Regions from separate parts of the Homo sapiens genome. Here region 2 is linked to region 1. The links are contacts of gene promoters, found by promoter capture Hi-C in human tissues and cell types (Jung and others, 2019). All regions are on one chromosome and are shown on one strand. The core of a region is centred on a gene start or on the middle of the fragment in contact, and the rest is flanking DNA. Distances in the headings are between cores, read along the strand shown. Region 1 holds the start of APOBEC3B (apolipoprotein B mRNA editing enzyme catalytic subunit 3B). Region 2 overlaps ENTHD1 (ENTH domain containing 1).

What was found. The method cuts DNA at HindIII sites, captures the fragments that hold promoters and counts their contacts. A contact is called where the count stands out against the background at its distance.
Region 2: a fragment that was not itself captured here is called in contact with the fragment with the promoter of APOBEC3B in region 1 in 1 of the 25 tissues and cell types used here (dorsolateral prefrontal cortex).

The regions. Positions count from the first base shown.
Region 1 is chr22:38,981,057-38,984,821 of GRCh38, reverse strand. APOBEC3B (apolipoprotein B mRNA editing enzyme catalytic subunit 3B) reads right to left here and starts at 2,475. Exons shown (of 8, transcript NM_004900.5): 1 at 2,352-2,475; 2 at 591-747. The coding sequence starts at 2,368. RefSeq lists an enhancer at 1-93 and a silencer at 2,292-2,341. The HindIII fragment of the contact is 18,696 bases long and covers 1-3,765 here.
Region 2 is chr22:39,857,117-39,860,529 of GRCh38, reverse strand. All of the region lies in intron 3 of ENTHD1 (ENTH domain containing 1), which reads left to right. Among named protein-coding and RNA genes, the nearest start is that of ENTHD1, 35 kb to the left of the region's middle. The HindIII fragment of the contact is 4,117 bases long and covers 1-3,413 here.

The DNA of each region.
Region 1 (3,765 bases), core at 1,226-3,725:
TGTGTTTTCTGCATTTCCAGCTGCTTAGGTCCTACTGTAGCAAGGGTTAAAAAGAAAAGAAGAACAAGTTTTCCTCTGCCTAGCCAGCTCACTCCAACGACAGTTATAACACTGCCTGAAAAGTCAAGGCCAAAGGAATGGGCTCCAGACACCACCCCCACACCCCTCCAGGGCAAGGTTGAAGAAAATTTTAAAAAAATTTTTTAAAAAAAAGACAAATTCCTTTACTGTCTCTCCTTTCCAGAACCATTATAACTATATTTTACAAATGTCTGTATTTAGCCAGTTCCTGTTTTCCTTTTGATGTAGCTGCAAGGCCACCAGCTATAGAAGGCCCCAAGTTATGCTAAGTCATCTGTTATGCTATAGATTATGTGACCTGTCACTGTTTGATTAATCGCCTTTGTTCTGCTTCTGTAAGTTTGCTTATAAATACCTCAGTCTGTCTTTGTTAAGGGCTCAGCCTTTTTGGATGTGAGTCTGCTGAACCAGTGCACCTAAATAAATCCTCCTGTCTCACCCATATCAGTCTCTCCAGTCCTCTAATTCCTGCAACACTGCCTGTGATTCGATTGAAGTTTGGGTGGTACCTGGCCTCGAAAGACCCCTGTGTCCCAAAGGAGATTTGAGCGGCCCCTCTTTATTTTCACTTCATAGCACAGCCAAGTGTAGCTCCGACCATAGAGGATGGGTTCGTTTTCAAAGTTGTCGTAGAATGTGTCTCGATACATCCGCTCCATCGGATTTCTGAAGGCACAAGAGAGAAACCGGCCCATGCAGGGAGCCCTCCCGGGAGTCCTCGGGGCTCATGTCCACTGAACACAGCTCCCAGGATGGCCCTGGGCCTCCCCGACCCCTCCACAGCCCTGAGAATTTCTGCTGCCTTCCCAGGCAGGAAGACTGAGGGGAGAGGAAGAGGAGGGGATGCTGGCAGGCGGGCTGGGGTGATCTCTCCCAGCTCGGGTCCAACTCTGGCCTTTCCAGGGGTACATTCCCCACCCTCCTAGTATTTCTGCCAACCCACTCCCCAACCCATTAGGAGAATGCAAAAGAGAATAAAACCCTTCACCCCTAAAAAATAGCTTTTAACCTTTCAGCTCAATTCCTTCCTGATGTTTCACTCTGCGTGTTAACATTATTTTAAAATCATGGTAGAACTGAATTCTGAGGCCCAGGCCACTCTTCTAAGTGCTGAGCGGGTGTGAGCTCACGTGAGGCTACCCTAGGCCTGCAGGGGCCATTCCCATCTTACAGAGGAGATGCCAGAGGCACAGAGAGGCGGGGTAACCTGCCGAGGCCACAGAGCTGGGGACGGATGGAGCAGGGGCCCCTTTCCAGGCCAGCCCTGTCCAGCCTCTGCATCACGGATCCTGTAGGAGAAAGCTGTTGGGGACTGGGCTCTCTTTTCACTAAATTTTAAAATCAGAGCATTTCTCCTCATCATTGCACTTTTTTCCCACATTCTCACATTCCATGTTACTGATCATGTTCTTTCTTTTTTTTTTTGATGAAGTCTCACTCTGTCGCCCAGGCTGGAGTGCAGTGGCATGATCTCAGCTCACTGCAACCTCCACCTCCCAGGTTCAAGCAATTCTCCTGCCTAAACCTCCTGAGTATCTGGGACTAGAGATGCGCCACCATGCCTGGCTAATTTTTGTATGTTTTTTAGTAGAGACGGGGTTTCACCATATGGGCCAGGTTGGTCTCAAACTCCCGACCTCATGATCCGCCCGCCTTGGCCTCCCAAAGTGTTGGGATTACAAGTGTGAGCCACCACGCTCAACCACTGGTCATGTTCTAAAAGATGAAGAGTGACCTTGGAGTGGAACCTGTCTGGGGACATCTGCTCACCATGGAGTCATCCTTGGATGACACGATTTATCATGTGCTTCAGAGACCATTCCTACCCCCGCACCCTCTCCTAAGACTTTGTATTTAAGCAAAGTAATTCTTACAGAAATTTCATCAAAACACTGAGAACAAAAATGCCTGATTGCTCCAATTACCCTTTGGTTCAATTCTCCCAGTTTCTGAGCTCAGGAGTGGCAGGAAGCACACAGAGGGAGCACCCTCCCAGGGCGGGGAGCACCAGTCCGGGCATGACTTTAAGGGAGAGTCTCAGCACGGGGCCTGGGCTGGTGCAGGTAGGGGAGGCAGCCCATTCAGAAGCAGCAGTGGGGTGACCACACAGCAGGACAAAGAGCCTGACTGGGATTCGTGTGGCAGGGGAGCCAGAGGGGAGGGAGCCCAGGGCTGGGGCAGGGGCGGGGGGAGGCCAGGGTTGAGGCCCAGCAGGACCACCAGGCAGGAAGGGGCAGGAGGGGCCCAGCAGGCAGAGTGGGCAGCGGTACCTGATCTGTGGATTCATGTTCAGCCTCTTAGATACGCTTGTCCCTGTCCCGCTCTTTTTTTGAAGCTCTGTGGTTTCACTTCCTGCTTACAGCGTCCTTGCAGTTGGACAGCCCTCCTTAAAGTGACCTCCCAGGGCCTTATGAGTCATGGCCCCTCCCCATTCCTGCTCAGGCATTGGTGTGGGAGGCCCCGGGGTGCTTCATGTTTCTCTGGCTCTGGCTCTGGCTCTGGTTTTCCCCGGACCCTTCCCGCTGGCAGAGGAACCTCCAATAAAGACAGGCTGCTCTGTCTTTATCTGTCCTGGGCAGGACCCAACGGAATTGCAAAGAGAAAGAGAAAGGCATTGCAGCCTGAGCCTGGGAGGCGGGTCCAGACCCAGCTGAGAGAGGGGCAGGTGCCCCGTTGCCTGGTGGTTGGGCAGGCTGGAGCCCCCTCTCCACCACCCCCTCCCCAGCCCTAATGTGTGCCCAGAGCTTTGAGCAGCACCACCCTGTTGAGTGAGGGGAGGTTTTGAGACTCCAGTGGGGAAGGAAGTGTGGACTCCGCACAGCACAAGGGAAGGCTTAGGTGTGCCTCGAGTTCCCAGCTGTGTGCTGGGTCCATGGCATGCGTCCCCTCTTCCAACCTCCCAGCTTCCAGAAGGTGGGGGGCAGGTCAGCCCCTCAGAGGGACTGCGATGTCTGCGACACCAAGGAAGGGAGAAGGGTGTCTATAAACAGGCTCACTGCCCAGGGACCTCTCAAGGGGTTCTTTGTGGGCCAAGAAAACGGGAAACACATACACACACAGCTTTCTGATTATTTAAGTCCATCTAAGCATATTTTGGAGGAATGAATGTACATTGAAATAATCTTCCTAAATAGATTCCTTTAAGGGGAGTTTGTTCCAGCTGGAGAAGTTGTGCTCTCTGTAGAGGCTCTGAACTCCTCTGGCTACGACGACGGGAATGCAGACAGGGAGGAGGATGCGTGGGTGGTAGGGGGAGCAGCAGCGCCCCTACCTGCACAGAAGCTTGTCCAACCTCTGCACAAAGCGGACTCCCAGTGGTTGTTTTTGGAAGGTGAGTTTTCTTTTCTTTCTTTTTTTTTTTTTAAATCTTCCCCAGTATAAATCTTTTAATTTAAAAGTAAATTTTATTGTCGAAAATGCAAACTTGGGGAGGGCAGAAAGATCACACACAGGGCTGTCACTTCACACCTGGGGGGTTGCTGGGAGCCGTCCAGAAGCGCTCCTCACTTCCCAGACGGTGCGGGGGCCGTCCAGAGGCGCTCCTCACTTCCCAGACGGTGCGGGGGCTGGGCAGAGGCGCTCCTTACTTCCCAGACGGTGGGACAGCCAGGCAGAGGCGCTCCTCTGGAAGGTGAAGTTTTCTGTTGCCGTCAGAAAGAGATGGACAAAGGATAAGACCATCGG
Region 2 (3,413 bases), core at 126-2,625, 880 kb before region 1:
CATTATAAGAGGGTAGCCATTGTAATTATAGTAGCAAATACTACCTACCGGCTTCTAAAAGTGGTGGGATCTTTAGGGGATCTGATTCTTTTGAAATAAATCTCCGAAAGAGACAGCCACTCATTCTGAAATTTTCTCATGGGAGCCTTTAAATCAAACTGATGCTAAAAACAGAGTAACAGAGAAGAATAACCAATTATGACTCATCCAGAGTTTCTTCCCCACTTTTGCTTCTTCGATGTTACCTTTCTTACTCTTCCTTCTTCCTTTCTTTTGTCAGTTCTTTCTTCTTTCATTGTAAACACATAATTATTGAATTTATTTAAAATTTGGATATTCAGCAGAAATTTGGAACTATAGGAGTGAGTAAAATAAGTTTTCTTTTATCATGGAACTAACATTCTAGTGGTAGAGACTGGGATGTCTCTGTCACAAGCATAAAATATGTCAGATAATAACAAGTCCTGTAAAGAAAAGGAAAGCAGGGTCAGGGAACAGAGTGACAGGGGTGGGTTTATTTTAGGTCACGTAATGAGAGAGGGCCTTTTGGAGGAAGTGAATCTTCAAACAGACCTGAATGAAGTGAGGGAGCAACCCACATACAGGCATACCTCGATCGATTGCACTTTGCTTAATTACACTTCACAGATAACGTATATTTTACAAATTGAAGGTTTGTGGCAATCCTGTACCCAAGAAGTTTATTGGCACCATTTTTCTGATAGCATGTGCATACTTTGTGTCTGTGTCACATTTTGGTAGTTCTTGCAATATTTTTAACTTTTTCCTTATTATTATATGTGTCATGGTGATCTATGATCAGTGATCTTAGATGTTACTGTTGTAATTGTTTTGGGGTACCACAAACCATGGCTGTAGAAGACCAGTGAACTTACTGATAGATGTCATGTGTGTTCTGACTGCTTCACTGATCCCGATCTCTCTCTCTCTCCTTGGGTCTCCCTAGTCCCTGAGGGTCAACAATATTGAAATTAAGCCAATTAATAACCCTACAATGGCCTCTAAGTGTTCAAGTGTAAGGAAGAGTCGCAGGTTTCTCACTTTAATTCAAAAGCTAGAAATGGTTAAACTTAGTGAGAAAGGCATGTTGAAAGCCGAAACAGGCTGAAAGGTAGGCCTCTTGTGCCAAACAGTTAGCTAAGTTATGAATGTAAAGGAAAAGTTCTGGAAGGAAATTAGAAGTGCTGCTCCAATGAATACGGGAATGATAAGAATGGGAAACAGCTTTATTGCTGTTATAGAGAAAGGTTGCATGGTCTGGATAGAAGATCCAACTAGCCCCATTATCACTTAAGCCAAAGCCTAATCCAGAGCAAGGTTCTAACTGTCTTTAATTCTGCAAAGACTGAGAGAGAAGAGGAAACTGCAGAAGAAAATCTTGAAGCTAGCAGAGGTGGGTTCATGAGGTTCAAGGAAAGCAACTGTCACCATAACACACAAGTACAAAGTGAAGCAGCAAGTACTGATGGAGAAGCTGTAGCAAGTTATCCAGAAGATCTAGCTAAGGTAATTGATGAAGGGGGCTACACTAAATAGATTTTCAATGTGGGTGAAATAGCCTTTTGTTGGAAAAAGATGCCATCTAGGACTCTCATAGCTAGAGAGGAGAAGTCAATGCCTGGCTTCAAAGCTTCAAAGGACAGGCTGACTCTCTTGTTAGGGACTAATGCAACTGGTGACTTTAAGTTGAAGCCAACTGCTCCTTTACCATTCCCAAAATCCTAGTGCCCTTAAGATTTCTTTAAAAATATTACTGCTCATTGACAGTGCACCTGGTCACCCAAGAGCTCTGATGGAGATGTACAAGGAGATTAATATTGTTTTCGTGCCTGCTAAAACACAGTGTTTATTCTTCAGCCCATGGATCAAGGAGTGATTTCAACTTTCAAGTCTTATTACTGAAGAAATACATTTCATAAAGCTATATCTTCCATAGATAGTGATTCCTCTGATGGATCTGAGCAAAGTAAATTAAAAACCTTCTGGAAAAGATTCACCACTCTAGATGCCATTAAGAACATTTGTGATTCATGGGAGGAAGCCAAAATTTCAACATTAACAGGAGTTTGAAAGAAGTGGATTCCAACCCTTATGGATGACTTTGAGGGGTTCAAGACTTCAGTGGAGGAAGGAACTGCAGATGTGGCGGAAATAGCAAGAGAACTAGAATTAGAAGTGGAGCCTGAAGATGTGACTGGATTGCTGCAATCTCATGATCAAACTTGAACAGATGAGGAGATACTTCTTATGGATGAGCAAAGAAAATGGTTTCTTGAGTTGAAATCTACTCCTGTGAAGAAGCTGTGAACATTGTTGCAATGCCAACAAAGAATTCAGAATATTACATAAACTTAGTAAATAAACCAGTGGCAGGATTAGAGAGGATTGACTCCAATTTTGAAAGAAGTTCTACTGTGGGTAAAATGCTATCAAACAGCATCACATGCTACAGATAAATCTTTTGTGAAAGGAAGAGTCAGTTGATGTTGCAGGCTTTATTGTTGTCTTACTTTAAAAAATTGCCACAGCTTTCCCAACCTTCAGCAGCAACCACCCTGATCTATCAGCAGCCCTCAACATGGAGACAAGACCCTCCACCAGCAAAAAGATGAAGACTCGCTGAAGGCTCAGATGATTGTTAGCCTTTTTAAATTAGCAATAAAGTATTATTTAATTATGTATATATATTTTTTAGGCAGCATGGTATTGCATACTTAGTCTACTAAGTAGACTGCAGTCTAATGTAAACATAACTTTTATATGCACTGGGAAACAAAAATGTTTGTGTGAGTGGCTTTATTGGAATATTTGCTTTATTGCAGTAATCTGGAACCCAGCCCACCGCAGTATCTTCAAGGTGTGCCTGTATATCAGGCAGAGGGAACAGCAGGGTAGATGCTCTGAAACTGGAGCAAACTTGGCCTGGTGAATCGTAAGCTTAAGAAATGAATCCCTAAATTGATACAGAAGTAACCCAACTCTGATTTTATGATTCATGCAAGAAATTCTAGTTTATTGTTTTGTAGTCACAGATTGCTTTTTTTTTTTTTTTTTTTTTTTTTTTTGAGACGGAGTTTCACTCTTGCTGTCCAGGCTGGAGAGCAATGGCACCATCTCGGCTCACTGCAACCTCTGCCTCCAGGGTTCAGGCGATTCTCCTGCCTCAGCCTTCCAGAGTAGCTGGGATTACAGGCATACGCCATCACGCCTGGCTAATTTTGTATTTTAAGTAGAGACGGGGTTCCTTCATGTTGGTCAGGGTGGTCTCGAACTCCTGACCTCAGATGATCTGCCTGCCTCAGCCTCCCAAAGTGCTGGGATTACAGTCATGAGCCACTGCGCCCAGCCCCACAGATTGCGTTTTTAAACCTAAAATGATATTCTCCATCTTT